Regions from separate parts of the Homo sapiens genome. Here regions 1, 2, 3 and 4 are each linked to region 5. The links are contacts of gene promoters, found by promoter capture Hi-C in human tissues and cell types (Jung and others, 2019). All regions are on one chromosome and are shown on one strand. Each heading gives the region's core, a stretch centred on a gene start or on the middle of the fragment in contact. The rest is flanking DNA. Distances are from core to core; before and after follow the strand shown.

What was found. The method cuts DNA at HindIII sites, captures the fragments that hold promoters and counts their contacts. A contact is called where the count stands out against the background at its distance.
Region 1: a fragment that was not itself captured here is called in contact with the fragment with the promoter of UNC80 in region 5 in 2 of the 25 tissues and cell types used here (H1 embryonic stem cells and dorsolateral prefrontal cortex).
Region 2: a fragment that was not itself captured here is called in contact with the fragment with the promoter of UNC80 in region 5 in 3 of the 25 tissues and cell types used here (dorsolateral prefrontal cortex, hippocampus and pancreas).
Region 3: a fragment that was not itself captured here is called in contact with the fragment with the promoter of UNC80 in region 5 in 2 of the 25 tissues and cell types used here (bladder and hippocampus).
Region 4: a contact is called between a fragment that was not itself captured here and the fragment with the promoter of UNC80 in region 5, in 2 of the 25 tissues and cell types used here (mesendoderm cells and thymus).

What each region holds. Positions count from the first base shown.
Region 1 is chr2:209,660,185-209,662,884 of GRCh38, reverse strand. The region is part of intron 5 of MAP2 (microtubule associated protein 2); the gene reads right to left. Among named protein-coding and RNA genes, the nearest start is that of UNC80, 110 kb to the left of the region's middle. The HindIII fragment of the contact is 3,752 bases long and covers 1-2,700 here.
Region 2 is chr2:209,680,992-209,683,691 of GRCh38, reverse strand. All of the region lies in intron 7 of MAP2 (microtubule associated protein 2), which reads right to left. Among named protein-coding and RNA genes, the nearest start is that of UNC80, 89 kb to the left of the region's middle. The HindIII fragment of the contact is 3,730 bases long and covers 1-2,700 here.
Region 3 is chr2:209,839,552-209,842,251 of GRCh38, reverse strand. UNC80 (unc-80 subunit of NALCN channel complex) reads right to left here. Exons shown (of 65, transcript NM_001371986.1): 20 at 1,604-1,710. Among named protein-coding and RNA genes, the nearest start is that of UNC80, 69 kb to the right of the region's middle. The HindIII fragment of the contact is 4,031 bases long and covers 1-2,700 here.
Region 4 is chr2:209,698,515-209,701,214 of GRCh38, reverse strand. MAP2 (microtubule associated protein 2) reads right to left here. Exons shown (of 16, transcript NM_001375505.1): 11 at 877-938. Among named protein-coding and RNA genes, the nearest start is that of UNC80, 72 kb to the left of the region's middle. The HindIII fragment of the contact is 5,822 bases long and covers 1-2,700 here.
Region 5 is chr2:209,770,487-209,773,186 of GRCh38, reverse strand. It overlaps UNC80 (unc-80 subunit of NALCN channel complex), which reads right to left and starts at 1,355. Exons shown (of 65, transcript NM_001371986.1): 1 at 1,023-1,355; 2 at 45-93. The coding sequence starts at 1,114. The HindIII fragment of the contact is 3,928 bases long and covers 1-2,700 here.

The DNA.
Region 1 (2,700 bases), core at 27-2,526, 110 kb after region 5:
TCAAAAGTATTAGATTTTTTATCTTATCTTTTTTTTCTTTTTCTCTTTTGTGAGGAGAAAATACTCCGAAATATAACAAAGGACAGATAAAGGCCATGCATAATCCTAACCAAAACAAAGGCTTAGACAGTCCAAAAATGAGTCTAGAAGACTCACTCCCATTACTTATTACTTTCATCTGTTTGCTAAAAATAAAAAAAGAATTTAAGAATTGTTTTAAATTTTTATCTAAATGGAGGTTTTTTAAATCTCAAAAAAATTGAAAAACATTAAAAGAAAAATATGATGACAAAACATGACAGCATATTAGAGGAGAGAAAACTTAACAAGATCTTGGAAAAAATGGGATGAGAGAAAGGTCAAGTAAAAATTACAATGATAATTAAATTATATTTGCACTTAAAAACAAACTAGAAAGAATAATTTTCATAAATAGGTCTGAATTGTCATTGGCAAAAATCTGTTTCGTTAAGATTCAAATTCAACAAAATAATTTTTAAAATGTCAGTGGACCAAAACGTCTGAGGAAATACTTTTTGCGCTTGTGATGTAGTTCTGACATTTAGCACAAAGCGAGACAAGAAACGAGACTGATTTCCACAGTGCATGGGAGGAATTTTCTTGAGGAACACACATAGAAGTACATGTGAATGCAATTAACCTCAGTTTTTAAATATCCTATTATATTGTGTTAGATAGAGCCTTGCTCTTCACAACTTGAAGTGTTTGTAGGCAATTAAAATTCCAAGGAATAAAATCATACCTTAATTTGTTGAGTCATAGGGTTTAATGGAAACAAGTCTTGAGAAACCAAGTTTTCCTCATATATCGATTAAGAATTACCGTCTTAAGAAAATCTCATCCTACCTTAAGACTGGACTACAGAGCAAAGACAGATTTTTATGGGACAAACTACCTTATAGCTGTACAATGAAACAAAACTTTATCTGATGTTGGTTTTTTTCCTCTAATTTGTAAAATATCAAACGCTGTGGCTGGCAATACCTGCTATATACAACCTCATATTGTATCAAGAATAAAAGACACAATTCTTTATTATAATATCCATATAAGCTAGCCCTAAATTAGGTTCAAATCCTATTCATCAACAAGCCAAGCCAAATATTATGATTGAAGCTAATCCCCACAACCAGCTTCACCTAGTAGAGAGACCACATAGGACAAAGCAAACGTGACAATACAAACCTCGTGGAACTGCCTTTTCTATCAATCCTTGTCTTTCTCACTCTTTCTAGCCCCGGATGCCTAACCTTTAGAAGGAAAACACTGAAAAGATCCCCATTTTCTGTCCTCATCCATCGGTGCCACCAGGCCCAGATGCTTCGCAGTGAGGCTGTGTGATTTTCTGCAGATCCACCCTTGAATGCTAAATAACTCTGCTCTGCACACTCCTCTCTCTGCGGAGCTCAGGGAAATGGCAGCCAGAGCAATGAGTGGTTGGCATGGCAACTAGGAAAGGAAAATCTGCAACCTCTCGCATTGTTAGGCGAGCTTGTTTATTTGCTTGGGGGGTTGGTGTGGATGGCTTTAGTCATTTTGCAGGAGAAATGGCTCAGTGCTATTTTGCTCCGCATAAATTAATATATTACATAGAATAGGCCATATTTTAAATGGGATGCTGACTCCTATTAGTAAATCGCAAATCTAGAAACGGAGGCAGGGGAGAAAGGGCGAGGTGAGAAAAGATAGATTTGAATCTTCTGAGATTGAAAAGCAGAACAGAGAGAAAAGCTTTATTTAAAGGCATATGCAGCTTTTTGCATGTGAGAGCTGCCAAACTTTTCCTTCATGTGTTTTCAAACTTAATAATTGCAGCAACAGGCCGGGTGTGGTGGCTCACGCCTGTAATCCCAGCACTTTGGGATGCCGAGGCGGGCGGATCACGAGGTCAGGATATGAAGACCATCCTGGATAACACAGTGAAACCCTGTCTCTACTAAAAAAAAAAAAAAATACAAAAAATTAGCCGGGCGTGGTGGCGGGCACCTGTAGTCCCAGTTACTCGGGAGGCTGAGGCAGGAGAATGGGTGTGAATCCGGGAGGCGGAGCTTGCAGTGAGCCGAGATCGCGCCACTGCACTCCAGCCTGGGCGACAGAGCGAGACTCGGTCTCAAAATAATAATAATAATAATAATAATAATAATAATAATAATAATAATAATTGCAGCAGGCCGGGCACGGTGGCTCACGCCTGTAATCTCAGCACTTTGGGAGGCAGAGGCAGGCGGATCACGAGGTCAGGAGATAGAGACCATCCTGGCTAACACGGTGAAACCCCGTCTCTACTAAAAAATACAAAAAAAATTAGCCGGGCTTGGTGGCGGGCGCCTGTAGTCCCAGCTATTGGGAGGCTGAGGCGGGAGAATGGCGTGAACCCGGGAGGCGGAGCTTGCAGTGTGCCGAGATCGCGCCACTGCACTCCAGCCTGGGCGACAGAGCGAGACTCCATCTCAAAAAAAAAAAAAAAAAAAAAAAAAATTGCAGCAACAATAAATGTATATAACTGAGTGTTGGTCACTTGGCTGCTGGAGTTATGTGGATGTGATAGTATAGGGCCAGATTTTATAAGACATAGCTCCCATGGTGAGCTCCCTGAAAAAGTGACAACGCAAAGCCTGGAAAAGCTTTTCCATTCCTGCCTCTTTGGCAGTGGGTAGGTCTGGATAGCATGCCTGGAAA
Region 2 (2,700 bases), core at 18-2,517, 89 kb after region 5:
CTCCCTTTCCACCTGACCTGCTATAAGCAATATATTGATGGAATTTGGGCTGAGTATTTACAAACTACTTGGTTTGAAAAATTGAACAGTTCAATCCTGTCTTGTGACTTGTCACTAATTTATTTTCTGACAAAACTAAACTTAAAAAATACTTGTATATTACTTAAGTGTGGCTTAACATAAAAGAGAAACAGTAGTTTGTCTAGACCACAAATCTTTTACATATTTAAGGTGAGAATATTATCTGGTCTTTATAGAGATAGAGTTTATAAAATATATACATCTGTTTTTCTTAAAACTCAAAAAATGGTTATACTTTTAAAATCAAATAATCAGAACTTCAGATAGTTCAATACTCAAAAAGTTAAAAACACAAGTTTGGCTTGAAAATAACTTTGAATTACTTTCAATAAGAGGTTAGGTGGTATTTTCCTTGAATATCTTGAAACAGCTTGAAGAAAGTAATTCCAAAATATTAGGGAACTCTGGAAAGTTGACACCTAAGTTACCAAAATGTGAAGGTGATTCTACATTTTATTTATTTATGTTTTCATTATATCCATCATATTACCCTACAGGAAGCAGGCTGGGTGAATTCCCAGATGGATGGGAGGACTCTGCTTCTTCCCTTTCTGTTCCAAATCCCATATAGAGTAAGAAGATTAAATGACTTGACCTCAAGCCGACTTTTGGAGTAAACCTGCTCTGTCAACATCATATCCCTCTCTGGGTTAAGAGGATTCTCTGATGCTTGAAAAGCTTTAAGTAGGAGCTTAGAAACATTTTCCATGGCCTGAAGGAGGTACAAGGGTCATGTCAGGCTTCCCGCTGCATTCAGAATGAAATCTAGGCCACTGACCCCAGCTGACCACTGCTTACTCTCACACTCCACTGCTCTACCCTTTCTCACTACCCATCAGCCACGGACCCCCTTCAGTTCCTGGGTCACTTCATCTTCTTGGGCACCTGAGCGCCCTTGTGCTTTTTTCTATCTTTATTTGGCCAACACTTCCTCCTCATGCTTCTGGTCTCAGCTACTTAGCCATCCCCTCACCACCCAATAAAATCAGGTTTCTCTTGTAATATTTTAAAGCTCCCTATTCTTTTCCTCTTCAATGCTAATCCAATTTGAAATTATTGGTAAGCTTATTTATTGGATTTCTGTTCTCCACTAGATAGTGTACTATTTATTTATTTATTTTGAGATGGAGTCTCGCTATGTCACCAGGCTACAGTGTAATGGTGCCATCTTGGCTCGCTGCAACCTCCGCCTTCTGGGTTCAAGTGATTCTCCTGCCTCAGCCTCCCGAGTAGCTGGGATTATAGGCGTACGCCACCATGCCTGGCTAATTTTTGTATTTTTAGTAGAGACGGGTTTTCACCATGTTGGCCAGGCTGATCTTGAACTCCTGACCTCAAGTGATCTGCCCGCCTCGGCCTCCCAAAGTGCTGGGATTACCGGCTATAGTGTACTCTTTAAAAGCAGGGATCATGTCTGTTTTGTTCACTAGTATATACTCAGAATTTGAAGAGTACCTGGAAGACTGTAGGGCTCAATAAATATGTGCCCAGTGAATGGATAAACATAAGGTCAAAAGGAACTTTTCAAACCTATAAATTAAAAGATTAAATCACATTAACTAATAATCAGTGGCTGCTATGCACTGATTATTATCCCCAAAGTTTCTTTTATTCCTCAGAAAAATTTAGTTTGTTTATTATTTCAGGCAGTAAATTGGAAAAAAAAAGCTTCAATTTAAGAAAGAAAAACCTTGCTAAAATAAATTTAGGTTTATAAATCTGTGACAAAATAAAATTATATTAGAGGTGATAATATATGGTTCACTAATTCAAATTTTTGTATTTACGAAATCAAAGAATATTTTAAATGAACCTAATTACAAATGATAAAAAGACAAGTCTTTTAAAATAAATGTTCTTCAGTCTTTAACACAGTAAAAAGGAAAAATAAATGAATAAATGAATAAAATAAACACTTTTAAAATTCTGGTTTTAATATATGAAAACTAAGTAATGTTGAAACAACAATGGAGCCCTAGTTCTTCTCTGCCTTTTCCTGTGACTCTCAAACAATAAACAAAGGTTAACTGGACTAAGTCGGAGAACCAGTAATGGTTTCCTTTTAAGTAGTGCCTTTCATCTCAGATTCTGAATGAAAATTCTTCAAAGGCATCTTTCTGTTGTATCAATGAGAATTGAAAAGCTAACATGACATTCCATGTTGAGTAAGTTCATAAAAAGATCCATGGACAATAACAGGTCTCAACAGGAAAGAGTCATGAGCTCAGCTTCCAGTTCAATGCTCTCAATATCAGATTCATTCATTAACTTCTTCATTTATTCATTAATATTTATTAAATTTGCTATGAGTCAGGCCCTGGGGAAGGTCTTGGCAATATAACAGTGAGCAAAACAGAGATAATTCCTGACACTTTCATAAGGAAGTGTTGATTTCATTGATAAATCTGACCCCTACTATTATGGAGATTACATTTATATTTATTTTAATTTTTGTTCAGTCACTTACAAGGTAGAATTGTATCTTCCCTGTTAAAGCATTCTAAAGTGAATGGGGTCTCTACAGTTATTTTAGCAACTGAACACAAAATTCTTTTCCTTAATCAAGCAGATTTCTTTTTTATTTACCAAATTCCTCTACTTTTGCTTTTATAAAAATAA
Region 3 (2,700 bases), core at 201-2,700, 69 kb before region 5:
TTTTCATACTATTACTTTGCTCTTCTGGCTTCCACATCTGGTTAGTTTGGTCATCAGTGTAGTTCATTCCCATGTGCCAAAAAAGACATCACTGTAACTAAAAGGAGGAACCAGGTCCCAGATTAAAAGCTAAATAATCAGGTGCTATAAAAATAATTGAGATATTCTTAGAGTTTAAATCTGATAAAGTCCAAACTGAAATTAATGAATAGCGAGACATAGTCATTCTTTACAAATACCACAATTGAGAATCAGACCAAAGTGAAAGATAGCTAAATAGAATACTTTAAATCTCTGTGAAAGAATCAGTATAAGGTAATTTATAGAGTGTACTATAATAAAAATGTAATAACATGTTTCTCTTTCTAAGAATTAAAATATGTTCTTCATCTTGCTTTTAGCTCAGCAGTACTCAAAATTTTTCGCACAGCAAGGAAGCTATGGGCCACACAAACTCAAATACATGACTTATGTTTTTTAGCAAATAGAAGGTAAGGAAGGAATGATACATATATTTTCTAAATATGCTATAGTCTTGCATATTATTTGTGTAATTTCAAAATATCACTTTTAAAACAGACTAGATAAAAGAAAACTGGTTTGGCTGGGCGTGGTGGCTCACACCTGTAATCCCAGCACTTTGGGAGGCCGAGGCAGGTGGATCACGAGATCAAGAGATCGAGACCATCCTGGCCAACATGGTGAAACCCCGTCTCTACTAAAAATATAAAATTAGCTGGGCATGGTGGCACGCACTAGTCCCAGCTACTCGGGAGGCTGAGGCAGGAGAATCATTTGAACCCAGAAGGCGGAGGTTGCAGTGAGCCGAGATTGTGCTACTGCACTCCAGCCTGGCCACAGATCGAGTCTCCATCAAAAACAAAACAAAACAAAAACAACAACAACAACAACAAAAACCCACAAGGAACAAAACAAAACAAAAACAACCCTGGTTTTAGTGAGATTAGAAAACAAAAGAATGCAAGCAAATAATTTGTACACATAAAAGGAAACATAACTCTTATCATATGCTGAAAATTAGGCATACAAATGACCAGGCCATGAAGCAACCACAGGGTGGACTCTCAGAAGAAACCTTACGTTACTCCAGTGCTTCACAGTATTACGAAGGAGGAGTGTAGTGAAAAAGGTCATCCCGAGATTCTTTCTTCTTTTCAATACAGACAGTGGTTCACATGGTGCCAAAAGTAGTGGGAAAAGGATGAATTATGTGTGTCTTAATATGTAAAAGGGATCACTGTAAAATTACCAGATCCTTGGACAGGAGTTTGAGATGTCAGTCATTTCATAGGTGTGTTAAAAGTTAAAAATAGCTGGGAAATAATGTCTATATACATCCCTATATCTGCATTATAATTTTATATAATTTTTTGACCACACTTTTCTTTTTCCCTTCCTATGATAGCCTACTACTTAAACAATTTAGTTTCCATTGCTTATCTAAGTTTCCAAAGTTAGCTCATCTGGAGAGTTTCTTCAGCTTTTCCTTATTTGGCCCCTGCAGGTGTTTGCTATTTCTCAGCCTTCACATGTTTGTATCAGCGACTTCAACAGTCACTTACACAAGTTATGTCCTGTTTACCTTGGAGCTTTGCCTGATGAAAGAGAGTCGGTCCACAGAGCTAATGTCCAGGAGGTCCTCCACACCATCTGCCAGGCCTGAGAGGGATGATCTCTTCAGCCAGTTCCCTATTTAATAGTTAAATCACTTAGATCAATGTAGCATTTTCTATCCAATCAATTAAACAGAAATGTCAACATAAGCCCAACAAGCGATGAAAGTTACATGGCTTGGTATAAATAGAAAAACAAATTGTTTTCAATGTACATGCTTTGAATAAAAATGTTCAGTGTTAGACTATAAAATTGCATAAGCATGTGGGACCAAGACGAAAAGAATCTGGGTTGAAAGGAAACCATCATCTATCCAGCTTCACATCTCTCATTAAAGCCTGTGAATTTTACCTCTTAAATACTTCTCAAATGTGTTCATTTATCTCTGCCTACATGGCCACCACCCAGTCCAAGCTTCCATTTACTTATACCTCACCTACTAGCTAACTTTCCTTCTGGTCTCCCTTATCTACTTATGCTCCCTCCAGTATGATTTCCATGCAGTGAAGTTTTGCAAAAAGTTTACTTGCTTGAGTTACTCTCCTGTTCAACATCCCATCTTGGCTATCTAGGGATCTAGAATGAAGAGTCAACCTGATCTGGCCCCTATCATTCTACTATAGTCATACCGCCACTTGTCCCCTTGTTTCAGTTCCTTCACTTCCCTTCAGCCTCCTAATATCTTTGCAAATAATGGCTACCTGGAGTGCTCTCCTTCCTTCTCCCAAGTATCCCGGAGATCTTAATGCCACTACCACTAGGAAGCCTTCCCTGATTTCTGCCTCCTCCCCCACATTCAGGTCAGGTCTCATTGTTGCATGCTTTCGTAGAACTATGTATATTTCCTTCATAAAATTCATAGTTTGCAATTACACTTAGTTGTATGATTATCCGCTTTAATGACTGGGGCTCCTACTATATTACAAGTTTAGCAAAGTTAGGAGGCTGTGTGTATTTGCTTGCTATTTAATCCTTGATGGCTAGTGTAGTGATTGCACACAGAAGAGGCACATAGTAGGGTATTGAAAAATACTGTGGGAAAAATTAAATGAATGAATGAATGAA
Region 4 (2,700 bases), core at 133-2,632, 72 kb after region 5:
ACAAATATGAACACTCTCCTTATACAGAATGTATAAGTGGGTAGAACCTTTCCAGAGGGCAATTTGACAATATGCAGCAAAAACTTTAAATATTAACATTTTTCTTGAAACAATAATTTCACTAGTAGAAAATGAAGGAAATAGCATACAAACTGAACTTAGCCAAAAAGTTCTCTACAGTAATATTGTTAAAATACCAACAAAAAATTCTAAAAGTCAAATAATAGGAAATTGATTAAGTATATCATTGCAAAGAAATAAAATGCAGTATTACGTAGTCATTAAAACTTACAAAATGTTCAACGACATGGAAGTACATTTACTGTTGAATTTAAAAAGTGATACACAGTGTTCTCATTTTTGTTGTTAAGCCTATAAATGTATAGAAAAAAATTAGGATTTTACATCAAAATGATAGCTGTGTTTATCTTTATGATAAGAGGATTATAATTGATTTCTACTTCTTTCTGCTTGTGTGCAGTGCTTCATTTGGTCATATTTCTATTTTGTAACAAAAACAATGAAAGTGTATTATAAAATACAGTTACTGTTGATTATATGGTTTAATTTGATTCTATGAAAAGTAACTAAACTGGACTTCCTTACTTTTGCCATATCATTGTGCTGCTTTCTATGTTTTTGTCTTACTAGTAAGGAAGCAGTCCAGCTGTGCCCTCACCAATTACCATCATACGCCATCCCAGAAGACGTTCATCCTTCCATGCCTGGATGCCACGGAGAATCTTCTGGGTGAGCGAACTATTTAAAGTGACTTTTAAGAGTAAATATCTAAACAATATCAAAAGTTATTCTGATGTTACAGCTAATACCAAAGGAACTTCAAATGAAGAACAAGGAAAAACTTATTTTACTCACAGAGACTTTGTCCTTTGCCTGTTTAAATACACTGGGAGCCAGAGCTGATTCCCCACCTGCTGCTGTTGAAAATAAAAGACAAACAACCCCAAACTTAGTTGCTAAAAAGTCATAAATGCAGTTTTAAATACCTGTAGGATATTCTGTTGTGTCAACAGACTAATGCAAAGCAAAAGTTTGCTTATTATGAGACTCAAATTCAATAACTCAAGTAACATGAATAACAATAACATAGCATGTGGCTCCAACAAATAGTGTGTGCTAATTAATATAACCCATTGTCTACCAAAGTGCAGGTAAGCACACCACGTAATTTTTCTATTGATTACCAATGTATCTTTGAATCACTAGTACGTAAGGAGATCCTTTAGAACAGAAGTTACAGAATAGCAATGTGAATGTTGCAAAATTTAAGAAAAAGAACACTGATTGGTTTCTGGGGTTCACATGATATATAGAAGAGGGTTCATAGAGATTTCCAAACCCTCTTCTTGTTCTGGAAGCCACTGGCATAACCATAGATATTTCGGTATTTTACATTTCAAACTGTCATGATCAGCTAACCCCTTTCCCTTTGTATCCCTTCATTTCACAATATGAATGACATACTTGTTTGATGTGAAAATGCCACATGAGAAGGGAAGAAAAATAGCTTGTCAAGAACAGAAAACACGAGAGAAAATTTAAGTTCAGTAAATACAGAACATGTTCTACACATGCACTTCCTGTATGAAATTATTACCACATCTGTTACTGTTGTTTCTCTTGCTGCTGTTTTATGCTTCTGGATTCAATTTTAAACTCCATTATCTCTAGCACATTTTGGTTGATGACTTACCTGAGGTAGCTTAGCTCTCATGATTTAAAACAATCCCTTGTGGTTTGGAAAACCATCTATGTTTGAAAATTGGGCTTAGAAGATAAAATAATCAAGCTTGTGTGTTTATTCCTCCTTAATTTTCATTCATAAAATAGAAACCCTCAGAAAAAAAATGTATCCTTATAAGCCCTCTGAATAAGTTCTAAAAAGGTATTTTTATGACAGGTACAGTTCTGACACAAACATAATAACTGTCTACAATATGCTTTATGCCATGTAGGACTAGCTAGTGAGATTTTTCAGATTCTAGGACTCATTGTTTTTAAGGAAGCAGTGAAAACGATGCCTTACTACTATCTCTGTAATATAACTCAAATTCTTGTGACATGTATAGCTTGCTTCAAACCAATGACACCTACATCTGATACATGCTTTCTCCTAAAGTATCTTAACATTAGACCAGAATAAAGGAAAATCTTCATTAGTTCAAAGATTTTAAATTTCTTTCAAAGAATGAATAAAAACACAATTTACTTTAAATGTGGCAAATTGAATACCAATGACATGTAAACACTTTACTAAACCATTTTACGTTTTCTCTAAAATTCCACAATCCTGATGACATCTTTCATCCTTTTAGGTAGGTTATAGAGTTTTTATGCTAAATCAAGAGATTCTGCTTGCCCAAGCAATTTTGCTACTAAGTTTAATGAAGCTATTAATTTGCTATTAAGTTTAATGAAGTTCTAAGTTTAATGAAGCTAAAAACCTGAGAAAATGAATTGAGGTATGTCACGTTAATTCCTAACTCCTAGCTTCAGATATATTCTTCATCCTGAAGCTTTATCAAGGTGTGCGTATATACAAGCCTTCTATTTTCAAATCCTGCCTTAGATTCTTGTTTTTGAAGGAAAGCACATGATATGATTTCTAGATGAAGAACACAAATACAAAATACTTGGAATTTTCAATGGCTAAAATAAAACCATCAGTTACCTTGATTT
Region 5 (2,700 bases), core at 106-2,605:
ACACAGAATAGGGAAATAATTATTAAATGGTGAAAATCACATACCACACAAGAAGCTTCATATTGCTTCCCCAGTTTGGGCCTCAAAAATGCACTGAAAAATTAATAGAGATATTTGTTAATAAACATAAGTAAAATTATTATTAAAGCATCCTTGTGACGTATTTTTCAATGAATAAGACAGGATGCTATGAAATTCAAATTTCATGCTTCCTTATAGCTTTTTAATGAGCAGGTGTTGAACAGCTGATGACATTTTCTTTTACACGTGTAATTGCATATATGAAAGAGAAGTGGATCTCGATGGTTTTCGGTATCCACTCTTAATCTGAAGACTTCTAAGATTTTAAATCGCCAGTGGTCAGAAGTGGTGCATTACTTACGTGTACAGTCATAATAAAAACTGAAAATTGAACACGGCTTATGGGTCATAATTTCCAGAATCTAATATCTTATCTGATAAATCTCTAAAATAACAATAATAAAGAAAACCTTTTCTGTTTATTGGAATAGGTGTCAGGCCTTTCCGGGGTTGTGGGGGAAGGTCCCTTATCACAAATCCTCAGGAGATTTAACTGGGGAGATTAATCTGAGCAAAACGGTTAACAAGTGGGCATAGCAGATATTCGCCAAACAGGAGCTGGAAAAACAACAGGTCACTGGGCTAGAATTACAGCAGGAGATGGAGGGGGAATTGGACGCAGGAGCACAACCAGTCATAATTATCTAGCTCCCCGCCCCCTCTTCCCAGGCTCTCTGCCCTCCCACCCCCTAAAATAATGTATACATTTATGCGACAACTGCCAATCTGCTTGTCGTCAAACTTCACTGAAATATATACATATATATACATATTTTAATGCGTGTTTTTAAGCTGGTGCAGAGGGCTTGTTTTCCAGCCCCAGAGAGGGAGCTGCAGGCTGTGGCGCGGCCTCAGCGGCGGCGGCGGCAGCGGCGACCCGGGCGGCCCCAGGAGCGCCCCCAGCCCAGGGCGGCCCGCGGTGCGCCCTCTGCGCCCCTCACCTGGTTTGCCGCCACAGGAAGGTCTGGATGGGCAGGGGGATGCCGCGGCCGCCGTCCTGCTCCTGGCCCTCGGAGCTCTTCCTCTTCACCATAATGGTGGCTCCCGGGAGTCCTACTGCAGGACCCAGCTCTGTCTCCTCGCTAGCCGCCGCCGCCGCCTCCTCCCGCTGCTCCCAACTCTCATCCCCTCCTTCCCCGAGGCAGAGCCGGCTCTCTCCGCCCTGATCCCCCGTGCCTCTCCCCTCCCCCCACCCCTCCCCGCGCGTGGAACATGGCTGCGGGAGGAGGGGAGGGCTGGAGGAGCCGCGGAGCGAGGAGGGGGGCGCTCGGAGCAGCGGTCCGCCTCGCCGCCCCCGCACCCGCTCCCTGCTTTCAGCACCTCCCACTGTGGACAGCGGCCCGCGCCGGGCTGCACGGCCGGAGAAGCGAATCCGGGGCAGCTTGAGCCGCAGGGGTACGGCCCAAGAAGTCCACGCTCCGCATCGCAGGCGCTCGTCCCCTGCGCGGCCTCTTCAGCCCCCGGAATTCGGCTTTCCCCGCTCCGAGCTGCACTCAGGAGTGTCCCCTGTCCTGCTTTCCAACCTCAGCATCCAAACTGTCGCCGTCTGGGTAGGAGGAGCTTTGGGGAACCGCAGAGCAGTCGCTAACCCTGGCATCATTCTCACCTCCAGCAAGGAGATCAGGAGTCCAGGGGTTAGCCGGAGGAACACATGAAAATTATTAGAAGTGTAAACCAGGAAGGTGAGGCAAGGTTGGCAAGTGAGAGGAAGCTTGAAAGATCTTAGATATGAGAAGTTATTTTTATATGATAACCACAAGAAATAAACCTTGTTTGTTTTCCTAAAGCAGGAATACAAAGTTCCCAAAGTAACCAGTTGTGGATATCAGTTAATTGCAAATTGAGGAAGAACATTTGAATCATGCTGTGAGGAAATGTGGTTTATTACAGTCCATTAAATGCACTTGGGTGATCCTGTTCGCCCCCAGTGATAGCTACCATTTTCCTTCAGTTGTAATAGTCAAATGCTTATATGTTACATATATTAATATTTTATAGTTGGATTGCTGTTAGATATATTATCTAGGAGTAAAACAAGTAGGCCGGGGAGGGGGGTGAGGTGGGGTGAAGCAATCGGAATAGTAACTACCTGCAATTCCTCCTCCTCCCCCTCCTCCTTCTCCTTCTTCCTCCTCCTCCTCCCCCTTCTCCTCCTCCTCCTCTTCTCCTCCTTCTCCTTCTTTCTTCTTTCTTGTTCTTTGACGGAATCTCGCTCTTCAACCAGGCTGGAGTGCAGACGTGTGATCACGACTCACTGCAGCCTTGACCTCCCAGGCTCAAGAGATCCTCTCAGCTCAGTCTCCCCAACAGTTGGGACTACAGGTGTGCACCACTACTCCCAGCTAATTTTTTATTTTTGTAGAGATGGGGGTCACACTATGTTTCCCAGGCTAGTCTCAAACTCCTGGGCTCAAGCAATCCTTTCACCTTGGCTTCTCAAAGTTCTGGGATTACAGGCATGAGCCACCATGCCTGGCCTCATCTTTTAGAGCAAAGATATTGGTGTAATCCATGAAATGAAGAATCAGACTCCAGGTCCTAATCTCAACAGATGTAATATTTCATATATAATTAACAGCATAGTATATATCAATATTTTTTGCCATAGAAATAAATTCT